Regions from separate parts of the Homo sapiens genome. Here region 2 is linked to region 1. Evidence: promoter capture Hi-C in 16 types of primary human blood cells and fetal thymus (Javierre and others, 2016). All regions are on one chromosome and are shown on one strand. Each heading gives the region's core, a stretch centred on a gene start or on the middle of the fragment in contact. The rest is flanking DNA. Distances are from core to core; before and after follow the strand shown.

Evidence for each region. Contacts are between HindIII fragments. The CHiCAGO score rates a contact against its expected background, and 5 or more counts as called.
Region 2: a fragment that was not itself captured here is called in contact with the fragment with the promoter of ADCY9 in region 1 in 1 of 17 cell types (megakaryocytes); the score reaches 5.0 in megakaryocytes.

Annotation. Positions count from the first base shown.
Region 1 is chr16:4,113,118-4,118,461 of GRCh38, reverse strand. ADCY9 (adenylate cyclase 9) reads left to right here and starts at 2,020. Exons shown (of 11, transcript NM_001116.4): 1 at 2,020-2,772; 2 at 2,977-4,712. The coding sequence starts at 3,020. RefSeq lists silencers at 1,813-1,882, 4,876-5,086. The HindIII fragment of the contact is 5,610 bases long and covers 1-4,782 here.
Region 2 is chr16:3,771,548-3,776,945 of GRCh38, reverse strand. CREBBP (CREB binding lysine acetyltransferase) reads left to right here. Exons shown (of 31, transcript NM_004380.3): 12 at 2,253-2,377; 13 at 3,016-3,195. Among named protein-coding and RNA genes, the nearest start is that of TRAP1, 57 kb to the right of the region's middle. The HindIII fragment of the contact is 528 bases long and covers 1,305-1,832 here.

The DNA.
Region 1 (5,344 bases), core at 771-3,270:
CTCCTAACCTCAGGTGGTCTGTCTGCCTCAGCCTCCCAAAGTGCTGGGATTACAGGTGTGAGCCACTGCACAGGGCCCAGCTTCCCCTAAAAATGTTAACGTCTTACCTAACCATAGTAAGAGGATCAGAACCAGGAAATTGCAGATCTTATGTGAATTTTGCCCGCTCTCCTGCTACTGTCCTTTCCTGTTCCATGTTCCCAACCAGCATCCCATGTTCCATTTAGTTGTTGTATCTATCCCCTTAGGGACGATTCCTAGATTGTGACAGTTTCTCAGTCTTTGTCTTTCAAGACCCAAAGTGTCCAAGGACACTTTTGATGGGTACTGGTTAATCACTTTGTAGAACAGGTCTCAATCTGGGTTTGTCTGGTGTTTTCTTGCGATTGGATTGAGATTACACACTTCTGCAGGAATACCACCACAATATGTTGCTTTTAGTTTTTTCCTCCTTTATTGTGGTAAAATACACTCAACATAACATTTACCATTTAAACCACTTTATTTTATTTTATTATTATTTTTTGAGATGGAGTTTCACTCTTGTTGCCCAGGCTGGAGTGTAATGGTGCGAACTCAGCTCACCACAACCTCCGCCTCCCGGGTTCAAGCAATTCTCCTGCCTCGGCCTCTCGAGTAGCTGGGATTACAGGCATGTGCCACCACGTCCGGCTAATTTTTGTATTTTTAGTAGAGATGGGGTTTCTCCGTGTTGGTCAGGCTGGTCTCGAACTCCCGACCTCAGGTGATCCGCCCACCTCGGCCTCCCAAAGTGCTGGGATTACAGGCGTGAGCCACCGCTCCCGGCCTAAACCACTTTAAAGTGTATGATTCAAGGGCAGTATGTAGATTCATCCTGTTGGATCATTTCTAGACTTTTTCATCATCCTAAAACGAAACCCCAAGCTGCTTATCTTCCTCCCCTAGCACCTGGCAACCTCCAATCTGTGTCGCCTCTACGGATTTGCCAATTCGAGACATTTCATCTGGATGGAATCATACGCTATGTGGCCTTTTTTGTTTGGCTTCTTTCACTAGCATAACGTTTCCCGGGTTCCTCCACACTGCAGCATGCATCGGTGCTCCATTCCTTTTTGTAGCCGAATAATATTCCATTGCATGGACAGATCACATTTTACTTTTATTTTCTAATTCAACAGTGAGACCTGGTGTGGGCCCCGGCGCTGGGCCTGGGAGGCGAGGGAGGGGATGGAAGAGAGCCCCGTGACTGGCAGGAGGCACTGTGGAGTGTGGGGAGAAGGGGTCGGGATCTGCATGCTAGAGAGAATAGGATTTTATTTACACGTGGCAATGTTTATGGAGGCCAATGCACAACTGCCATTATGGGACGCGGACTCCTTTGAAAGTCTCATTTGTGTAAAAGGAAAAGCAGTAGTTCATGAGGAGGGGGAGAAGGGCTCAAGGACAGCAAGGTAAACTACCCCTGGGGCGGGGGAACGTGGTCGTCGGTGGGCCCAGCTTTGGAGGCTAGGCCCGTGAAGGTCGCCCCGTGAGCAGGTCCAGGGCAGGCCGAGTGCCCCGGGGCCCGCATTCATTGCTTACAGAGCAAGGGGAGCCTCCCGGGAGGGAAATCCAACGGTTGGAAACTTCGATTTATCCCAAAGGCGTGCCGAGTGGGAAGGCAACATTTTGATTTCCCAAACGTTGCGGCCAGCGGCTTCTTCCACGGCAGGCGCCTTCAGGTCTCTCCGCAGGGTCGGGACCCCGGGCGGCGCGCGGCCTCTGGGACGCCGAGGGAGGGCGGGCCCACAGCGCCCGGAGCGCGGACAGCGGCCACAGCCCGCCGCCTAGAAGCGGCGCCGCCCGGGGCGGGGGGCGGAGCCGAGCGCGCGCCCCGCCCCGCCCCGCCCCGCCCCGCAGCCCCAGCCCAGCGCGCGCACCAAGGCGGGGCGGCGCGCGGCCCGTGCGCGTGTCCGGGGCCAGGAGGCGGTGGCGGCGAGCGCGGGCCGCGCGTGCGCGCTGCGGCTGGGCGAGGGGCGGCGCGGGCGCGCGTCTGTCAGTGACAGCGGGCGGGGCAGGGGCCGGAGATGGTGGCGGCGGCAGCTCTTCCGACATGAGGCAGCGGCCGCGGGGGACACGGCGGCGGGCGCGGCGGCGGCCGCATCTCTAGCTCGGGGAGGCGGCCCCCGGCGTGGGCGCGGGCGGGCGGGCGTCCCGGCCGGCGTCGCGGGAGCCCGGCTCTGCGGCAGCGTCTGCACCGCCGCCCGGCGAGGGGCCCGCGTCCGTGGTTCCACGCGCTCGGTCCCGGGACAGCTGCGGCCGCGGCGGGAGCGGCGGCGCACTCGGGGGGAAGCAGGCCCCACTAGACGGGCCGCGCCGACGGGCTCCGCGCACTCGCAGCCCGGGGCGCCCCCACCCCCAGCGCCCGCCGCCGCGGGCAGGGCCGGCCCGGAGCGCGGGGGGCGGCCGGGGAGCGCGAGCCGGGGGCGCCCGCCGAAGCTCGCTGCTCCGGGTCGGGGTCCGGGCCCGGGGCCGGCCGCGCGCCGCCTTTGACGCATCGGAGCGCGGCTCCTGCAGGATGGAGGGCTCCGCGCCGCCAGCGGAGTTGTTTGTGCGCAGGCGGCTCGCGGGGCTGGGAGCGCTCAAGGTCTGAACTTCCCTCCGGAGCCGCAGCTGGAGGAGGCGAGCGCGCGAGGAGGAGAAGCCGCGCGGCGCGGAGGCCACCCTCGGGGCGAGAGGCGCGGAAGGCGAGCGAGCAAAGCGGTCCCGGAGCCACGGCGGCCACGCGGCGGGGACCCCCGGGCGTTCTAGGTCCGTCCCGAGCGGTTCTCGTGCGCCTCGAAGGTGGGGGCGGTGGGGGCGGTGGGAGCACCGCTGAGCCGGGAACCACAGGAACAGATGGTGCCTGTCCAGGTCGCGTGCTGGAGCCGCCCCTTAGGACAGGAGCAGGTCCCGGGCCTCTAGGCGTGCATGCCTAGGTGGGAGCGCCGCTAACTCTCCCCGTTTTGCTGGCAGGTACTGGTGACCCCGGCCGGGGCAGGCCCCGGGACTCGACAACATGGCTTCCCCACCCCACCAGCAGCTGCTGCATCACCACAGCACCGAGGTGAGCTGCGACTCCAGCGGGGACAGCAACAGCGTGCGCGTCAAGATCAACCCCAAGCAGCTGTCCTCCAACAGCCACCCCAAGCACTGCAAATACAGCATCTCCTCTAGCTGCAGCAGCTCTGGGGACTCCGGGGGCGTCCCCCGGCGAGTGGGCGGCGGAGGCCGGCTGCGCAGGCAGAAGAAGCTGCCCCAGCTGTTCGAGAGGGCCTCCAGCCGCTGGTGGGACCCCAAGTTCGACTCGGTGAACCTGGAGGAGGCCTGCCTGGAGCGCTGCTTCCCGCAGACCCAGCGCCGGTTCCGGTATGCGCTCTTCTACATCGGCTTCGCCTGCCTTCTGTGGAGCATCTATTTTGCGGTCCACATGAGATCCAGACTGATCGTCATGGTCGCCCCCGCGCTGTGCTTCCTCCTGGTGTGTGTGGGCTTCTTTCTGTTTACCTTCACCAAGCTGTACGCCCGGCATTACGCGTGGACCTCGCTGGCTCTCACCCTGCTGGTGTTCGCCCTGACCCTGGCTGCGCAGTTCCAGGTCTTGACGCCTGTCTCAGGACGCGGCGACAGCTCCAACCTTACGGCCACAGCCCGGCCCACAGATACTTGCTTATCTCAAGTGGGGAGCTTCTCCATGTGCATCGAAGTGCTCTTTTTGCTCTATACCGTCATGCACTTACCTTTGTACCTGAGTTTGTGTCTGGGGGTGGCCTACTCTGTCCTTTTCGAGACCTTTGGCTACCATTTCCGGGATGAAGCCTGCTTCCCCTCGCCCGGAGCCGGGGCCCTGCACTGGGAGCTGCTGAGCAGGGGGCTGCTCCACGGCTGCATCCACGCCATCGGGGTCCACCTGTTCGTCATGTCCCAGGTGAGGTCCAGGAGCACCTTCCTCAAGGTGGGGCAATCCATTATGCACGGGAAGGACCTGGAAGTGGAAAAAGCCCTCAAAGAGAGGATGATTCATTCCGTGATGCCAAGAATCATAGCCGATGACTTAATGAAGCAGGGAGATGAGGAGAGTGAGAATTCTGTCAAGAGGCATGCCACCTCGAGCCCCAAGAACAGGAAGAAAAAGTCTTCCATCCAAAAAGCTCCTATAGCCTTCCGCCCTTTTAAGATGCAGCAGATCGAAGAAGTCAGTATTTTATTTGCAGATATCGTGGGCTTCACCAAGATGAGTGCCAACAAGTCTGCCCACGCCCTGGTGGGTCTCCTGAACGATCTGTTCGGTCGCTTCGACCGCCTGTGTGAGGAGACCAAGTGTGAGAAAATCAGCACCCTGGGAGACTGTTACTACTGCGTGGCGGGCTGTCCCGAGCCCCGGGCCGACCATGCCTACTGCTGCATCGAGATGGGCCTGGGCATGATCAAGGCCATCGAGCAGTTCTGCCAGGAGAAGAAGGAGATGGTGAACATGAGAGTCGGGGTGCACACGGGCACCGTCCTTTGCGGCATCCTGGGCATGAGGAGGTTTAAATTTGACGTGTGGTCCAACGATGTGAACCTGGCCAATCTCATGGAGCAGCTGGGAGTGGCCGGCAAAGTTCACATTTCTGAGGCCACCGCAAAATACTTAGATGACCGGTACGAAATGGAAGATGGGAAAGTTATTGAACGGCTGGGCCAGAGCGTGGTTGCTGACCAGTTGAAAGGTATGTGCACTGCTTTACCTCGGCATCCCCCCTCCCTGATCCTGATTGTATTAAATTAAAAAAAAAAGCTTCCAGCCTCAGTGTCTGCAGACAGCTCAGGTATCTCAGAATGCCTTACCATGGGGGGATCTCAGGGTCAGTGTGACTTTTCTTTCAGCGGGTCAAATATCACAGATCTGTTCACACTGCAGAAAGGGACGCTGTGCAGAGATGACCTAGACGCGACCTTTAGAAGGAAGGAGAACTTTGAACGTGCATAACCACTGGTTGGCTGAAATGTGGGGGCACGTCCGGTGAATGTAAGGGTATGGAGCCCTTCAGCATTCAGCACTGTTTAGCACTTAAGGAAATTGCCTTTGCATTCATTTGGTCACCCTGAAGTCCCATCCAAATGTTTCTCTCTGCCCTTTTTGCGAAAACGTGGAGAATAAAATCTTTCTCCTCTCTAGGCCTCACTTTGCTTATCCTCAAAATAGGGATAGGAAGTCGGCGCAGTCCTGCAGGTCTCTGGAGAATTAGACGGAGTTACTTACCTCTGAGTACACACTGTCTTTTATCTAGGTCTTTTTTTTTTTTTAAAAAAAGTTTGCATTTTCAGCTTTCAGCCATCATTTGTTTAAGGATATTTTATT
Region 2 (5,398 bases), core at 319-2,818, 340 kb after region 1:
CCCGGGTTCATGCCATTCTCCTGCCTCAGCCTCCATAGTAGCTGAGACTACAGGCACCTGCCACCACGCCCAGCTAATTTTTTGTATCTTTTTTTTTAGTAGAGATGGGGTTTCACCATGTTAGCCAGGATGGTCTCAATCGCGTGAACTTGTGATCTGCCCACCTTGGCCTTCCAAAGTGCTGGGATTACAGGCATGAGCCACTGCACCCGGCCAGCTTTTTATTTTTTTAATGGATGGTGAAGGGGGTGTGGTACGTTACTCTTAGGAAGAGTCCGAGAAAGAAGCACCCTAGATGTGGGGAGGGAGTGCTTCTGAATGCTGAGAAGGAGAAGCATGCAAGACAGTCCTAGACTGCTGAGCACTTGCAGAGGCTGAAATGGGGACGGCACGGGCTGCTCTTGGCCCTAGGGGTTAAGCCCAGCTGGCTGGATGTCAACTTCTGGAGAGAGTGTACACACAGGTCCTGTGCCAGGTTGGGGTGTCAGCAGCTGTCTCAACAACCTTGAAAGGTTCTTAAGTAGAGAGCCTCTGGTTTTTGGTTGGTTGAAGCAGTGATTTTTATTTTGGGGCAGGGAGCATTTGAAAACCCTGTAGCTCTTGACCATTGAGACCCAAGCAGGAGGACATTTTTCCAGGTTGTGAAACAAGGTGGTGACATTATCCAGAAGACTCTAAGGAAAGAGGCTTTGCTCAGGCTTTGATTTTTGAAAGAAATCAAGGAGTCAGGCTGGGCACAGTGGCTCACACCTGTAATCCCAGCACTTTGGGAGGCCGAAGCAGGAGGATCACTTGAGGTCAGGAGTTTGAGACCAGCCTAGCCAACATGGTGAAACCCCCGTCTCTATTAAAAATACAAAATTTAGCCAGGCATGGTGGTGCACACCTGTAATCCCAGCTACGCGGGAGGCTGAGGCAGGAGAATTGCTTGAACCCAGGAGGCGGAGGCTGCAGTGAGTTGAGATCACACCACTGCACTCCAGCCTGGGCAACAAGAGCGAAATCTCATCTCAAAAAAAAAAAAGAAAGAAATCAAGGAGTCAGAGAAATTGAGCCTTGGGAAAGTGGCTGGATGCTGTGTTGGGGATTGGTCCAGGACTTCAGCCTGGATAGGAAGATGCTGCTGGTGTGGGGTATGATGCCCCTGCTGTTTACCAGCAGAATATTGGAATAGATGTTTTCTAGTTATGCACTTAGCAACCTCCCTACCAGCACATCTGGGTAAATACAGATTTCTTTAAGTGCTGTTCCTTAGTAATTGTTTTTCATTTTGTTTAAAAAAATTCTCAAGGAGTGGGGAAGCTTACATTATAGACTCCCTGGAAAGTCTTCCTGGTCTGCATCGGCACTCCGTTATTTGAGGGTACCATTTCTAGGTAGCCATTGAAGGTAGTGCTCCGTGAGTCATCCTTTGAGCCTTCTCATGACTACAGCAGCGCTAAGGCAGCACCTTCCAGAAATTCTCTAAAGGGTTCTGTCAGATTCTAGTGTTGGTCCTAAGACTAATTTGAACTGGTGCTTCTTTAGAACTCAGAGTTTACAGAGTATTATTGGAAATTGGAAGGAACTAGACACCGCAGTCTGGAGACACTTACTGGCTGTGAAGTGTCTTTCAGTGATGTGGTGTTCCTGTAAACTACAGGAGGCTAAGGTTGAGGACGGCTGACCCTTGGGCACTTCTTAATGCTTAAGGTGCTTGCAAAATTAAAAGAACATTTGGAGACTTAGCACAGATTCTAACAATGAATGTAAACCCAGCAAGGAGCTGGGAATCCTCGGATGATGGGCGTCAGCTGCTCCAGAGGCATTAGGTATGGGTGTGCACAGAAGCTTGCCCTGGTCTCTGGAAACATCTCTTCTGTAGCTTGTGAGGGTGCTGTCCTTTCAGGGCACCTCCTCACCCTCTTTGTTGCTATGACACTTTGGTACTGTGCCCTCTGGCTCAGCTCTACCACAGCCTCGTTTAATGTCTCACTTGTTCCTGTCTTACCCAACCTTATGCCTTCATGTCCTCGTCCTTCCCTGGTACCCCTCACCATGCCACCGTCACCACCCCCACATTGATGCCGTTTTCTCTGGATATGGAGAAGTCTGTTCCTTCATCATCTTCATTGATTAATTGGGTGATTTCTTTTCAGTTTTCTGTTGCCTGTGCGTTCCATCTTATTTTACTTAAGAGTTTATTTAGCAAGTTGTAATTCTGTTTTCCTGTGGGTGCTTTTCCTAATGAACCGTTGTGGGTACATTTACAGGGATGAATTCATTTAACCCCATGTCCTTGGGGAACGTCCAGTTGCCACAAGCACCCATGGGACCTCGTGCAGCCTCCCCAATGAACCACTCTGTCCAGATGAACAGCATGGGCTCAGTGCCAGGGGTAAGTGTTCTCTTTCGCTGTGCTGCAGATAGCCCTCCCTCTCACATGGAACATTATCTAAGCAGCAGAATTCATGTCACTTGAGAATCCTGTGGTTCTTGTTCCTTTGAATTTGGGTTATGCTTTATTTCTTTCATCTCTCATTTTAAAAAAATTATTACTACACAGAATTATTTGACTGTTAGTTATTTTATTGGAATAACAAATTCATAGGAATGTGTGGCTTTGTGAGAATGTGGGAGTTCCAAGGCTGGAGAAGGCAGCCTCAGATATGTGGCCAGCAGGGAATTGTCAGCATCTGTTGACTGAGAGCTCGCTGTTCCGAGGCTGCTTTCTAAACACTTTAGAGAACTCATAGGCATGTCTTAAACTTTAAATTATAGCCTGCTATTGATTTCTATTCAGAGGACATTTTGAAGCTGGCTCATTTGAGAGATTGCCTGAGAAAGTGTGTAAGGTGCCCAGGAGCGCGGGAGTTCTTAGCAAGTGGTGGTCTCTTCCCATGAGGAAGGGCAGGATGTGAGCCCTGTGCTTGCCATCCTCTGGGGTTGTGAAGCCTTGGATCATTCTGGCTCACCTTGAAAACTCTGGCCGTCAGCTTCCGAACTACAGCTCTGGTGGTGCTTGTTGTCTCGTAGATGGCCATTTCTCCTTCCCGAATGCCTCAGCCTCCGAACATGATGGGTGCACACACCAACAACATGATGGCCCAGGCGCCCGCTCAGAGCCAGTTTCTGCCACAGAACCAGTTCCCGTCATCCAGCGGGGCGATGAGTGTGGGCATGGGGCAGCCGCCAGCCCAAACAGGCGTGTCACAGGTACTGTGCCCCACTGGGACCGTGGCTCCCTAGGAAATAAAATTCTTGTGTTAAGTTTTGGTTTTTTTTTTCTGTCTTCCTTCGTGGAAATTAAAATTCCAGAATGCACATTTCATGTCTTTGTATCAGCTTCTCTTTGTTTTCTCCACCTTTGTCCTGTAGTCCTTAACTCGTTTGGAATTTCTCTTATCCTTTCTGGGTTAACTATATGCAAAAGTGGGAATGGATTTAGAATTTTTGGTTTGTATGCTTTTGTGTTTTGATCTTTGAGTTTTTGTTTTCTTATTTTTTGTTTGTGTATTTTAAATTCTAACTTTAACGTGACCCTGAGAGGCATTAGGATTTTAAAAAGCGAGTGAGAAGGACCCATGAATTCACTCTTGATGATTTGGCTTTTGTTTCTTTTGACCTGTCTCCACTGCCAGGTGAAATCAAGCTAACAGAATCATTTCAATAGTTCCCTTCTTGTTAAATGTTTTTAATTTCTCAATCTAGAGCTGAAGAAATTGATTTTCCATTTATTCCTTCCTTTTTTCCTCTTTTGTTAGTTGTAGTGCGTATCATTGCTACTGTATACAAAATATACATGTATTTAAAACACACCAAATCCTCCCTAAAAGATAAAATTCTTGTTTTAAGTTTTTTTTTGTTTGTTTGTCTGTTTTAAGACAGGGTCTCGTTTTGTTGCCCAGACTGGAGTGCAGTGGTACAATCTCGGCTCTGCAACCTCCGCCTCCCGGGTTCAAGCGATTCTCCTGCCTAAGCCTGCCAAGTACCTGGGGTTACAGATGCCCGCCACCACACCCAGCTAATTTTTTTTTTTTTTTTTTTTTTTGTATTTTTAGTAGAGACGGGATTTCACCATGTTGGCCAGGCTGATCTCGATCTCCTGACCTCAGGTGATCCACCCACCTCGGCCTCCCAAAGTGCTGGGATTACAGGAGTAAGCTACCGTACCCAGCCTTGTTTTGAGTTTTTAATGTGAAATAATGCTGCATAAGTCATTATTATATATTAGATTTCCTCACTAAATGATTATTCTTAACTTTCCATAACATTTCATTTCTCTAGAACAAGGATTAGCAAACTTCGTGTAAAGGGCCAGATACTAAATATTTTCAGCTTTGCAGGCCATTCAATCTTGGTTTTCATCACTTCTGTTCTTGTAGTGCAGAAGCTGCTGTGGTACATAAATGAGGTGGCTGTGTGCCAATAAAGCTTTATTTACAGAAACAAGCAGCTCAGTGTGTTTGCCCTGGGAGATTGCCAACCCCTGCTCTAGAACAGTGATTCAGAATCATTTTTAAAATGTTCACAAATAATTCTGAAGTGTATCCCCAGTATAGAACCACTGCACTGAAACAGTTCTCTTTCAGTAACTAACGTGTGTGTGTGTGTGTGTGTGTGTGTGTGTGTGTGTGTTTGTGTTTCAGAGAGAATTTTTTTTTTAAATTTTTAATTGTTAAGGGTACTTATGGATGTATATATTTATGGTCAATAACTTTTATTCTTATTTTTATTTATTTATTTTATAGTCCCCAGGGAAGAAGCAACTTAAAAAAAAAATACCTTTTTCTAAGCTAAGCTTAGAAAATGTTAAAGAACATTGGGTACATGTTATAGAACATGAAGCTTATAGGCTGGGTCAATGTACAGTAGCTCCCCCAATCTGTCATTTCACTTTCTGAGGTTTCAGTTACCTGGGGTCAACTGTGGTCCAAAAATATTAAATGGGAAATTCTGGGAATAAACAATTCATAAATTTTAAATTAATTAGCTAGGCATGGTATTGCACGCCTGTAATCCCAGCTACTGAGGAGGCTGAGGCAGGAGAATCACTGGAACCCGGGAGATGGAGGTTGCAGTGAGCCAAGATCATGCCATTGCACTCCAGACTGGGTGACAGAGCGAGACTCTGTCTTTTTTTTTTTAAAAAAAAAAAAAAAAAGTTTTAAATTGAGTGCCATTCCAAGTTGCATGATGAATTCTGTCACCATCCCACTCTGTGCCCCCAGGGATGTGAATCATTTATTTGTCCAGCATTTCCACACTGTAGACACTACCCACCTCTTAGTCACTGAGTGTCCACCTTGGTTGTCAGATCCAAAAATCTTGGTAAATATTGGGTTCAGTACTATCCGCAGTTTCAGGCGTTCCAAGACTGGGGGTCTTGGAATGTATCCGAGTGGATATGAGGGGACTG